Regions from separate parts of the Homo sapiens genome. Here region 2 is linked to region 1. The links are contacts of gene promoters, found by promoter capture Hi-C in human tissues and cell types (Jung and others, 2019). All regions are on one chromosome and are shown on one strand. The core of a region is centred on a gene start or on the middle of the fragment in contact, and the rest is flanking DNA. Distances in the headings are between cores, read along the strand shown. Region 1 holds the start of C16orf78 (chromosome 16 open reading frame 78). Region 2 overlaps LOC105371244 (a long non-coding RNA gene).

The links. Contacts are between HindIII fragments. The study calls those that stand out against the background at their distance.
Region 2: a contact is called between a fragment that was not itself captured here and the fragment with the promoter of C16orf78 in region 1, in 1 of the 25 tissues and cell types used here (pancreas).

What each region holds. Positions count from the first base shown.
Region 1 is chr16:49,372,288-49,378,079 of GRCh38, reverse strand. It overlaps C16orf78 (chromosome 16 open reading frame 78), which reads right to left and starts at 4,276. Exons shown (of 5, transcript NM_144602.4): 1 at 3,991-4,276; 2 at 230-349. The coding sequence starts at 4,140. LOC105371244 (a long non-coding RNA gene) reads left to right here. Exons shown (of 8, transcript XR_001752167.2): 8 at 3,150-5,756. RefSeq lists enhancers at 3,362-4,092, 4,093-4,823. The HindIII fragment of the contact is 5,141 bases long and covers 2,466-5,792 here.
Region 2 is chr16:49,409,310-49,415,459 of GRCh38, reverse strand. LOC105371244 (a long non-coding RNA gene) reads left to right here. Exons shown (of 8, transcript XR_001752167.2): 3 at 571-721; 4 at 3,877-4,052; 5 at 4,589-4,643; 6 at 4,760-4,789; 7 at 5,995-6,111. Among named protein-coding and RNA genes, the nearest start is that of C16orf78, 39 kb to the right of the region's middle. The HindIII fragment of the contact is 7,810 bases long and covers 111-6,150 here.

The DNA of each region.
Region 1 (5,792 bases), core at 3,027-5,526:
GATGTGACACGTGTGAAGAATGAAACTACAGGGAGGCAGCAATTGGGTAGCACGGCTGGACAGGGTAGGGAGGGGTGGAGATTTTATTTGAGTGTTAATGTGGGGCCAGAGTGAATTTCGGAGCCTTGAAATTTAGAAAGTAGGCAGGCATTATGCAGGAGAGAAGCAGGGACCCCTCCTCCATTTGGAGACCCAGTGGGGGTGAGTGGGGGAAGAGGGGCTGCATTACCTGCTGGGAAGTCTCCGTGTCCCTGCGGTTCCCTCCCCGTGCTGTCATGAGGCCTTTGCCTTTCTTCTCTTCCTTCTTCTTATTTCGTTTAAGGACTGTCACCACTTTGGGCTTTTGCTTCTGAAAAGACAAGGGAAGAGAGCCCTGCAGCCACTGCTGTGGGGACAGCATCCCCTCCCTTTCCCCAAGGAGAAGGCTCCCAGGTGAGGGGCTGTCCCTCCCCTCCACAGGCTTCAGCACACACACTCTAGGGCCTGTCGTCACTGTTCCTCTGCTTCCAGATGCGCCCTGGTATACATGTCGCCGCCCCCAGAGCGACTTTCTGAGCCTCAGGCCTGGTCCTGTTCCTCTCCACCTCAGAATCCATCAGGGGCTCCCCATCACCCCCCACATAAGGGCCTCACTCCCTAGCCTGGTAGGAAGCCCCTCCAGCCCCCTTGTGGCCTTACCAGCTCAGACTTCCCTGCCCCTGCCTCCAGTGTGGAGTCACAGGAAGGCTGCCCTGACTTTGAACAGGTGCTGCTGATCCAGACCTCTGGGCCTTTGCTCACCCCGGCCTCTCCCTTGGTCCCGGAGCACCCCAGGCCCACCCCATCCTGTCTTCCTGGAGTGGTGGTCACCACTGACCTTGCCTTTCTATTTCCCCAGGTATTCCTTACCACCTGCCCAAGAGCTGAGCACACCCTGCCCTGAATGGAGTTCCCTGTGCATGGCACATTCCTGGCCCTCCTGCTCTCGCAGGGGAGGCAGGGAGGGCAGGGTCATTAGGGATCTCCAGGGTCCCACAGTCCAGGAGCCCAGCAGAAGCACTTAAAGGGTGGGCCACCCAGGAAGCATTCTGCCTAGTCTATAAGGGTTAGGGGTGGGTGCCAGAGCATCATGGCAGAAACTAAATAGACTGGATCTCCTCTGGGAATATGCTGCTTATGGTTACAGGGAGACGGTGGCCTGGACTGCAGTGTCCAGGTCAGACTGCCTGGATTCCTGCTCTATCCACGGCTGAGGGCTGAGTGACCTCGGCAAGTTTCTGCTCTCTCTGTGGCTTAGTTTCCTTGTCTGAAAGGTGGGGATAATAGTAGGACCTACTTCATAAGGTTACTGAGAGCAATAACTGAATTACGACATGCATGTGCAATGCCCTCCATGAATTATGGGAGGCAGGTTATTATGCGGGGTGGGTGGAAGGGAAGTTTCGATAAGCCATTTGGGAGTATGGAAGGAAGCTGTCCAAGGGCCTGCTCCATGTTGCAAGTTGCCTTCTAAGGAAGGTAACGCTGGTTAGCTTTAGGGTTTTGTTTGGTTTAGTGGAGAAACAGTGCAACTCAGAGCCAAGGCTGCATTTTCAGGCTGTGAGGAGCTAGGATGACCCATCTCCTCCAGGGCAGCCCCTTCCACCATCCCCCACTCAATCCTCAGCCTCCCTCAAAGAGTCACCTGAGTAGCTCCCCACACAGCCCCCATTTTGGGGAAGCTGAGCGGAATTGACATGGCGATGCTTTAGACTCAAGGAAACTGCAACATTCAAGGATTCAGCATCCTCCATGGCTGAGACTTCAGACCTCAGGGGTCTTCGCTGATGCCAAATGGATCACAAGGGGGAAATACCATGAGCAGTCTGTTGGGGGAAGAGCCTGGATGGCCAGGTCAGACCCCAGGAGAGAACAGAGGAGGTCACAGAGGGCCCTGAGTGGTGAAGATAGACCCCAACCATCTCACCAGAGGGTCCCCCATCACCTGCTGCTGTCGGAGACCTGCCAGCACACATCATCTTCCTCTTAGAAGCTTCTTTAAAAGCCCAGATGCTTCTGGGAAAGGTAATGATGCTTGAAGACTTAATTATATTTCCCATGTAAACTTGCTCCCTCTCTAGGTCCAAAGTTATTTACAATAAAAGCCACATTTAAGGTAAAGTTGTTAAAATGTGATTATTAGAATCTTATCCTGGTAAAAGGAGATAGACCTGAACATATTAACCAGGGAAGTGAATGTAATTCCTGTGATGATATTAAATTGAGTTTGGAGAGACCCAGAAGTCAAGCTTCCCCTTCGCCCCCAAATCAAGGCAGTGGGTAGGCTATCTGTAAATCATTAGCACCTTAGAGTAAAATATGTTTGTCAGATGTGTCTGATGGAATTGGCACTCGAGATCTTTCTGACTATAAATGGTAAGTGGTATGGTTTGGATCTGCGTCTCTCCCCAAATCTCATGTCAAGTTGTAATCTCCAGTGTTGGAGGTGGGGCCTGGTGGGAGGTGATTAGATCATAGGGGCACTTTCTCATGGTTTAACACGATTCCCCTTGGTACTGTCATGAAGGCGAGAGTTCTCGTGAGATCCAGTCATTTAAAAGTGTGTGTGGCACCTCGTCCTCCCACTTCTTGCTCTTGCCATGTGAAGTGCCTGCTCCTCTTTTGCCTTCTGCCATGATTGTAAGCTTCCTGAGACCTCCCCAGAAGTGGAATCTCCTATGCTTCTTGTACAGCCATGAGCCAATTAAACATTTTTTTTTATTTTTTTTTTAAATAAATGACCCAGTCTCAGGTATTTCTTTGTAGCAGTATGAGAATGGACTAATACAGTAAGTAAGCACACAAACATAATGGAAGCTTTCCCCAAAGGCAGGTGCTGACCTGGATAAAGCAGAGGAGTCTATGCATTTGGGAATTGGAAAACCTCAGTTTGAGCCCTGGCTCTGCCCTTTATTACTTCTGTGACTTCAATAAAATGACTTATTTTCACTTTCCTTATCCTTCAACTAGGGGTAAAAATGGTGCCTCCCTGGTAGCCTGACTGGGAGCAATTGACCACATAACCCAGGTACAAATCTAAGCACAGGGCCTTGACCACAGTAAACATTAAAAGTTAGTGATGTGTTGAGCATTGTTATTAGTAATGGCATTTTTTACTCATTTTGCTCTAGGGTCAGGAGATTCAAGACCAGGTGGCATCTTCTGCAGAGGACACCACTTTCCAAAGACATGGCTTGGTTCTTCATAGATGATAGGTCTTGGGGGAGCTCTGGGAAAAACTAAGGCAAACTTGGTTGCTACATTTCTTGGAGAAAGAGGAAAGGGTGGGTTAGAACTAGCTCGATGTAGGGTAGAAAAGAGGAGGTATGTTAGCTGGAGTTGCAGTTGCAGTAATGGCAGTGAGGAATGAATGTTCTTTGATTCTGAAGGCATCACAAGGAGAGAAGAGCTGAGGGCAGTAGGAGGATCCCATCCTGCAATATGGAGACCCAGAAGCCACTGCCCCTTGGCCCTTCTAGAATTCTGACCAATACTAACATTTGCCCAGCTTGACTAAACTTTAGACAGGTTTCTTCCTGATGATAGGCCCTTGGCCTCCTTTTCCTTAGAGCATTTCCTCTAGAAAACTTGGATTTGTAAATTTTTTCTCTGCCCCTTTGAGATGTAAATCTCTCAGTCTCTTGCTAGTTTTACAATCCAGGAATGTTTTTCTCAAGGACCTGGGAGGACCCTTTGAAATGTAATCATCAAGAAAGATTGTACCTTGTCTCTCAGTCTCTGTGAGAGGATGGGAGCCTAACATTTATAAGTGCGAATTAGCAACACAGACAGCCTAATCATATTAACTAATTCCCCCACCCCCTTAATGTCCTTGGGTAGTTCTCACTAGCTTATCCCAGCACTTCAAAACCATCCCGCCTTTTGTTTCAGGAGAGTTAAGTTCAATCTCTCTCCCCTACTGCAACTACCTTGAGTAAAGTCTTCCTGCCATTTCTCTTGGATGGTACCCACCTCGGGAGCTTGTTTCTTCTTCCCCTGCCTCCGCTCCAGCCACTCCAGCACACAGGTGAGGTCAGACATGCGCCTATCTTCAGCAGTCTTCCACATGTATTTCCTCTTTGTGGGCATTAAATCCTTCAGGTCCATTTGTTGCTCTGACATTGTGGAGTCTTGCTAGTGGCTTGGGTGGGAGGTGGCTGGCACTGTCTCACTCTTTCGATCCCTTTGTCTGGACTTGATGGCCTGGTGACTTAGAAGGTAGGGTGTGGCCTCCAGATGTGAACATAAAGGGCAGAGTGAGCCAAGACCCTGGGATATTGGCCTTAAAAGGTGGAAGGCCTGGGCAGTGATTGTGAAGTCATTGCCCGTCTTGGTAGCTGGCCCTGAGGTCAGAGTGGAGGTGGGACATTGGCCACCTCCCACTGTTCTCCATGTGGCCACTACCCCTCTTCAGGCGCTATGTCTCCTCTGGACTCTGCCACAGCCTCCTTGCAGCCTCTCCACCTCTACCTCCACAGAGATCTTAATAAAATAAAGGTCTGTCCACGCATCTTCCTTTCTCAAAAACCTTCAATGGCTCCTTGTTGCCTATCTAAAAGAAATCTGAATTCTTTAGTTTGGCATCCTATCTTTCTGTAGTGTACTCTAATTAGAAGAAAGCTTTTTATAAGCCCAATTCGTCTATATTCATTTATTCATCCAACATGTGGTTATCAGGCACCTACTAAGTATTGGGAATGGTGCTGGGGATACAATGCAGGAAAAAAACATAGGCAAACCTCCTAAGACATATGGGCTAGTGGAAAAGACAGGGCAGATAATTACCGTATGAATTCATAATGACAAGTGAAGATGAGTGCTTTCAAAGAAAGGAATGTAGTTCTATGAAAGGCCATATCAATGGTACTAGACTTGGATGGGGTGGTGGGTAGGCCACCTTTGAGCTCTGAGCTAAAGGATAAATAGACTTCAACAGGGCTGTTATGGTCTGGACATTTCTGTCCCTCCAAAATTCATGTGCTGAAATCCTAACCCCCAAGGTGATGGCATTAAAAGGTGGGGTCTTGGGAGGTAATTAGGTCATGAGAGCAGTTCTCTCATGATTGGAATTGGTGCCCTTGCAGAAGAGACTAGAGAGAGCTCCACCATGTGAAGATGTAGTGAGAAGGTGTCACCAGGAAATGGGTTCAGCAGACAACGGAATCTGTCAGAGCCTTAATTTTGGATTTCCTAGGCTTCAAAAATGTGATAAATGAATGTTTGTTGTTTATAAGCTACCCACTTTGTGGTATTTTGTCATAGGCCCAAATGGATTAAGATAAGGGCTTTGGACCAGAGAAATATGCCTGTGCAAAGGCCCTGTGACAAGCGGGAGGCATGGCACTAACAACAGAAGGCAAGGGTGACTAGAGTACCAGAGGCAAAGAGGCAATGGTACAGAGGTGGCCAGAGGCCAGGCCATCCAGGAACTTGGTAGCCACAGGTTCTGCTCAGACTGGGAAGGGAAAGGGAGCAAAGGAAAACAATAAAGGAATTCAAAAAAAGGGGAGGGAGTGGCATGGTCAGGCTTCCCTTTTTTGCTCTAGTAAACTTCTATTGAAGGAAATTATATATACAAAAATGTGCCAGAATCACAAATGAAGACATCTATGTAACCAGTACCCCAGAATCTTCCATACAGCCCCTGGTAGTTATTACCACCCTCCAAGGGTAAACATCATCTTATCATCCAATTTCTTTTTTTTTTTTTTTGAGACAGAGTCTCGCTCTGTCACCCAGGCTAGAGTCGGCTTACTGCAACCTCCGTCCCCCAG
Region 2 (6,150 bases), core at 2,766-5,265, 38 kb before region 1:
TTTGCATTTTTATCAAGCGTCGGTCTCCCCTAACTGAAATGCAAGCTCTGTGAGAGCAGCCTTGTCTGCTCGGTGGTTACTCACGGTCTAGGGCAGTGCCTCGTAGGTAAATATTTGTAGAAAAATAGAAGAGAGCTTCCCCTTATGGACCCGCAAGTGCTCTTTGGGCCCCATGGGCCTGGCAGAAAGCCTCACCTCACCGGCAATGGGTCCCTCCTAGGACTTTACCGTTGACAATGGTGCCTTCTGGAAGTCACCTCCATTTCCAAGCTGGCCCGGTGGGGCCCAGATAACGAAGCTGCTTTAACATAAATAATTTGCTTCTGAGGTGTAAGAAGTGGGGAATATTTTTAGAAGGCCTGCCCTCCTAGGGGAAGTAAATGACTTATGAAAACGGGATTTTTCAAAGTGGCCTTCAAGAGAAAAGGGAGCCGTGTGTGATGGCCAAAATGGAATTCTATGAATTAGTGCGACTCATTATTCTGGCCGTACGCACACAGAAACACGCACACACACACACACACACACACTCACTCACTTTTCCTCCTGCCTTCCATTTCATGGTCTTAGCTCGAATCTGAAATAAAACCCCGGCAGCCCTCCTCCCCTGGCCCTCAGCGGCGGCCTGTCTGATTGGATGCCTCCCACAGCCCTGAAGACCAGAGCTTCAAGGAGGAAGCCGCCAGGGACACGCTGAGTCCTCGCTTCTTAAAGTGCGCCCGTAAGTTACCTTGAAATGTTATTTTTTAAAAAAAAAGTATTTTAGGTTCAACAGACACTTGGGTTCCTGTTAACAACTCATTTAAGGAGAAAGTGGGGGGAAGGCATTCAGATCAAGGCTTCTTTGACAACGTGAACCTCCTTACTTTGAATCCTTACATTGTCGATGGGATGAAAGATTTCGTGGAGACGCAGATGGGTAAATGCGCAGGTGAGAAAGGACAGATGTTCGCTACAACGGAGACGCAGGGATCTTGGGATGAGCTTTGTCTGGCCAATAATGGAGAATAGATATTGGAGGGAGGGGGGAGTGGGAGACCCAGAAAACCAAGACACAAAAACCACTTTTGTGACCATTGTGTTTCCACTGGAGTCTTGATCTAGGGAAGATGTGCTGTTTGGAGAACTAACAAGATGACCGACTGCTTTGATGGGGCATGTTCTGAAAACCAAGGTCTACAGAAGTCATCCATGGCTGGCTCCCTGGGGCCTTTCTCCCCTTTTCTACAAAATCTGGCTGCCATGGAGGCACAGATATGTTTTCTGCCCATCACCCCCCAAAAGCCCCAGACAATCAGCTCAGACCGTCTTTTCTTGAAGGTTCATGGTTGCGTCCTGGTGCCCACAGGCTCAACTTTGAACTTCTCAGCCAGGAGCCAAGGGCTGCCATGAGCTAGCTCTACCTTGCCTTCTCTTCCCAGTCCTCACACCTCCCCAAGACCCTACTCCCACCGGACCAATCTTCTCCCTGATCCCATATTATTCTTTCCTCCTCCATGGAGGTCCCCTTATCCAAAGATTCTCCTGTCTACTTGTCTGAGGTCTGCTCATCCTGGACAACCTGACTCCCAGGAGCCTTCTGAGCCCATCTTCACTGAGCTCTTGTAAGTTCCAATTCTATGTTCCTTTGATCCATCTCATTGACTGTCTTTCTAGTCTACTCTCCCAAGAGGACTTTTTAACTCTTTCAAAACAAGGGTTCTGCCTGGTAGGTGCCAGCAGATGGCACAAGACCAACAGAGTGGGCACAATAAGAAAGTAATGGCCTCTTCCAAACAGCATGAAGTGGCCAGGCTGTGGACCAGAGGGTGCACATGATATGGTTCACCACCCTCTCTTGGAGATCTTCCATCCTTGAGGCTCAGGAGCAGAACTCAAGAGAAACTGCCACCATAGTGCTGTCACCCTCTGCTGACCACCCTGAAACCTGGAGGCCTGCTTATCCCCTGGGGCAAGACCCAAACTATCAGCCTCTCTATGTTGTCCCAACTCTTTTTTTTTTTCTAGAATAGTTCATTCATTCAATAAAATTGTTGAGTGGCCCACTCACTGTGTGCCAGGCACTGGGAATCTGGGGGTGAGTATCCTATACCCAGTCCATTGTCTTGGTACTTACAGACAATGAATTAAGAGCCACAGAAATGACTGATTACAGTCAGAATAAGTGCAACGACAGTTTAAGTGCAGGCTGCTCTGAATATTTCGATAGACCTAACAATTGCTTCTCAAGGTTGCTGTTTTACATCTGGTGGGTTTTGAGCAGGCTGCCCTACAGCAGTGGCAAAAGGAGCCATAAGCTGCCTTGATGGGACACTTAATGGGATGCTGAGCCTAGGGGGACTGATGGAAGAAGGTCAGTTCTCATGGTGGGTCTGAGGCGAGGCTGGTGCTCTGAGTGCTGGTGGAGAAGTATCTCCAGGCAGGGACTGTACCTGGAATTCTTAGGAATGTAGAGGAGGTCAGAGCAGGAGCCAGCTGTCTCCCCAACTTAGGCCATAGACAGAAATGTCTCAACATCCTCTGGTGCTAAGTGCCTTCTCCTCTTTAAAAGGAGGGCCTTCTTTTCAACAAGCTCCCATGTCCCATGGAAAGAGTCCTCCAAGCCTTGCTAGCATCACCCTATTGGGTACCAGTTACTCCCTCACTGGCTGTATTTTACTTCCTTGATTTTTCTATTAATGAAGCCAATGAGCTGTTTTGTATTATGACTTCTTCTCTAATGTTTATCTACTCTACATCATGGTGAATTCCAGGAGAATTAAAATTATGTCTAGTTCTTTTTGGATATCAAGGATCCTAGTGAGGGCATAAACCAGATAAACAAGTATCTGGCATGCATGCCACCACTTCTGAATCCAGTGACCATGGCAGACATTATTAATCAATCCTGATACTCATTTCTGCTGTGCCTTGATATGGTTTCAAAGTACCTCCTCAGAATACTCTTTTCTGGTTACCCTTTGGGGGAAGTCACTCCTCCTCTGATTTTTTTTTAATGACTTAAATCATTCTTTTCTTCACAGTGCTCTTTCACTTGCAATTACATATTTTTAAAGGCTTATTTAAGGACTGTTTCCCCAACTAAGCTGTAAACTTATGGAACCATGTCTGTCTTTGCTCATCATTGCAGTGGGGTGGTGAGCCCATCCCTTGTCCTGTGGGAAGAGCTCAGTGCATGTTTGCTGCAAGTTGACTGAATGCTTGAGTAAATGAGTGATTTAAAGAGGACCCAGGTTTATCATCAAAATGCCTGGCTTAATGCTGGCTCGGTAGCTTCCTAACTGTGCACTTGGACAGGTCCCTTCCCTTCTCTGGGCATCAGCTTCCCCATCAGTAAAATAAGGATAAAATCTTTCCTTTTGCAGAGTTGCAGTGGGCATCTGATGGTGGAAAATAAGTGAAAACATTTTGTAGCTCAGAGGCAAACGCTGCCAGTGGTGATTATTGGTGTGATTTCTCCCCTTTTCTCTGCTGCAGGGCTGGGAGCTGTTCAAGCAGAGGTTTCACTTTTCTGGAGCTTTTGAAGGCTCTGGGACACAGACTGCCCTCCTGAGCTTGGGGGCCAGGGGGAATTTTATCTTGGATTCGGGTTGGTTTGGGGGATGCTAGCAGGCTGGTGTTCAGTGCGGGGCCCAGAGGGTGCATGCCGGGAGTGGGCAGCTGCTCCTCCCCTCCTGCCTGGGTCCAGGGTGGCAGCCTCTCCACTGCTGGGGCCCTGTGGGGAGGGGGCCTGAGGTCCTGGGTACTGAGCCCTGCCCATGGGAGGCATGCACGTGACTCTGGCCTTGAACATTTAGGATGCAGCGTGGCATCACTGCCTGCATGGGTGAGGAGGGAGGGGCCACTGTGTGCTGCACTCCTTTGTTGTTTCTACAGCTGGGGCCAGGCAGCCCCTTCCCTTTGGGGATTTGAACCCCTGGAGCCCGTTTCCCTACAAGGTGGTCCTTCTCTGGCCAGTGAAGCCTGCCTAATGCACCCTGGGGAGGCTGATGCCTTAAGCAAAGTGGCTCGAGCCGGCCCTGCTGAAGCTGATCCCAGCTGGCCTGGAGCGGGTAGGAATTTGTGTGTGTGTTGTAGCAGGGGATTGGGGGAGCTCAGGAATGGCCAAGTGCAATGGCAGGACCCTGACTGGCTGTTACCAATCCCAGAAAGGGGCACGGAATGGTGGGGCTGGCCAAGACCCAGTGACTCCGGGAAACAGAGAGCTCCACTCCCCTGTCCCCTGACTCTCAGCTGGGGTGGGTGGCAGGGCCCAGCAGGAGTCAGGCCTTTCTCCCAGAAGGGCAGGGCCCATAACTTGTCCTCCTAGAGGGCCAGTTCACTGGGGAAGATGGGTCCTGGTTGCAGAGAAACCAGGCCCATTCTCCCTTGGCAGCCAGAGATCTTGAGTTGTGGGGGCAGGAAGCAGAGGAGGGCCTGGGAGTAGGTCCCCCACAGGCAGGTGGGGCTTGGGAAGCTTGAGAGTCTTTTTCTGCCCACTCTCCTGTGCTGTCCCCATTCAACCACTCAGCAAAGCTAGATTCCACCCACTTCCCATCTCCCGCCTTTGCCTGGGGTGCCCTCATCCCACCTTTTATTTCCCTACAAGGTCCAATGCAAATGTCACCACCTCTGCAAGTACCCCTGTGACTCCTCCAGAGAAGGTCAGTTGCTGCCCCTTCTTGGGTCCTACCCTCTTTTTTTCCCCCCATTACTAGGGTGTTCTTAGGTGAGTAATTATGAATTAACGAGGGCATTGTTTTCTTCTGTCTTCCTCTAGACTGTGAGCTCCAAAGACATCATCATTGTGGTCAGTATCTGTCATTCCTGCCTGCCTTGCCTCCAGGTCTGCTTCCTTCTGTAATGGCACCTGTGGTCTCCAGTCCTCACCATGGCCCCCAGTGATGCTTGGCTCCTGGTCTCCACACCCTTGTGTTGTTCCCTCCCACACTGACCAGGGCTGAGTTGTGTGACTAACAGGACATTACAGAAGTGAGGCAATGCAGCAGGGTGTGTGACTTCCCAGGGGACAGCAACAAGGGCCCTCTAGCTTCTGCCCTGTTCCCTTTTGGGCTGGTTGCTCAGGCGAAGCCAACCGCCATGTTGTCAGGACACTCAAGTAGCCCCATGAAGAGGCCCATGTGGAGAGGTGTTGAAACCTTCAGCCAACAGCCAGCACCAGCTGGCCAGCTGTGAGACTAAGCCACCTTGGAAACGGATCCTCCAGCCCAGCCAGTCCTTTGGATGACTGCAGCTCTGCTGACAGATTGACACCAACCTCATCACAGACCCAGCTACCCCACTGTGTTCCTGACCCACAGGAACCATGTGGGATGATACATATTTGTTATTGTTTGGGGAGAAATTATTAGCCAGCAAAAGAACCAATAAGTATCTCAGTTCTCCTCAGAAACTACCCTTCGTCCACTGTGTGTGGCCTTGGTAGAACTGGCACTTTAGGTGCTCCATCTTCCCTGGGCCAAGGGATGGGGGCCTTGACCCTAGAGAGGACAATGAGACCCTCTTTCTGGAATTTGTATCTTGAACCAGAGAGACTAGACCAGGAAATGATTGGACTGATTTCCAGAAGCTACTTGACATCACGCACACACACGTAGGAACACACACACACATATACGTATATACATATATACATATAAACACACACGTATGCACACCACATGCACATGCACCAATACATATATAAACATACATACATATACACATGCACATATATTTTCCTTTTTTTGCCAAAGTTAGGTGCAGCCATTGCTAGCATCATCTTCACATGTCATCAGAAACCACACCACTCATATTAGGCCCTGGAACACACGTCATTCAGTAAGTGCTCAACCAGTGCATATTGGGTAAATTAAAATCCTAGAAATAAGAATGAAGTCAGGGCTGCTTCTTGTGATTTTGACTTGTGTTTTGTTCATCGTCTTGGAGAAGATTTTGAAAGCCTGAGATTGATGACCTTTGTTCTCTGTCTCCCTCCCTTGCCCACCTTCCCAGAGGAGAGTAGCTTTGCGCTCAGTTACCTGCCACAGAAAGGTTCTGCTGCCAAGCAGGGAGTTGAAGGGATCTGCAGACAGCCTGCCTGTGTTGGTCTGGAAGCCCATGCTCTTTGAGGTGAGAACTGGGGTGAGAGGAAGGCATAAGCCTCAGAAG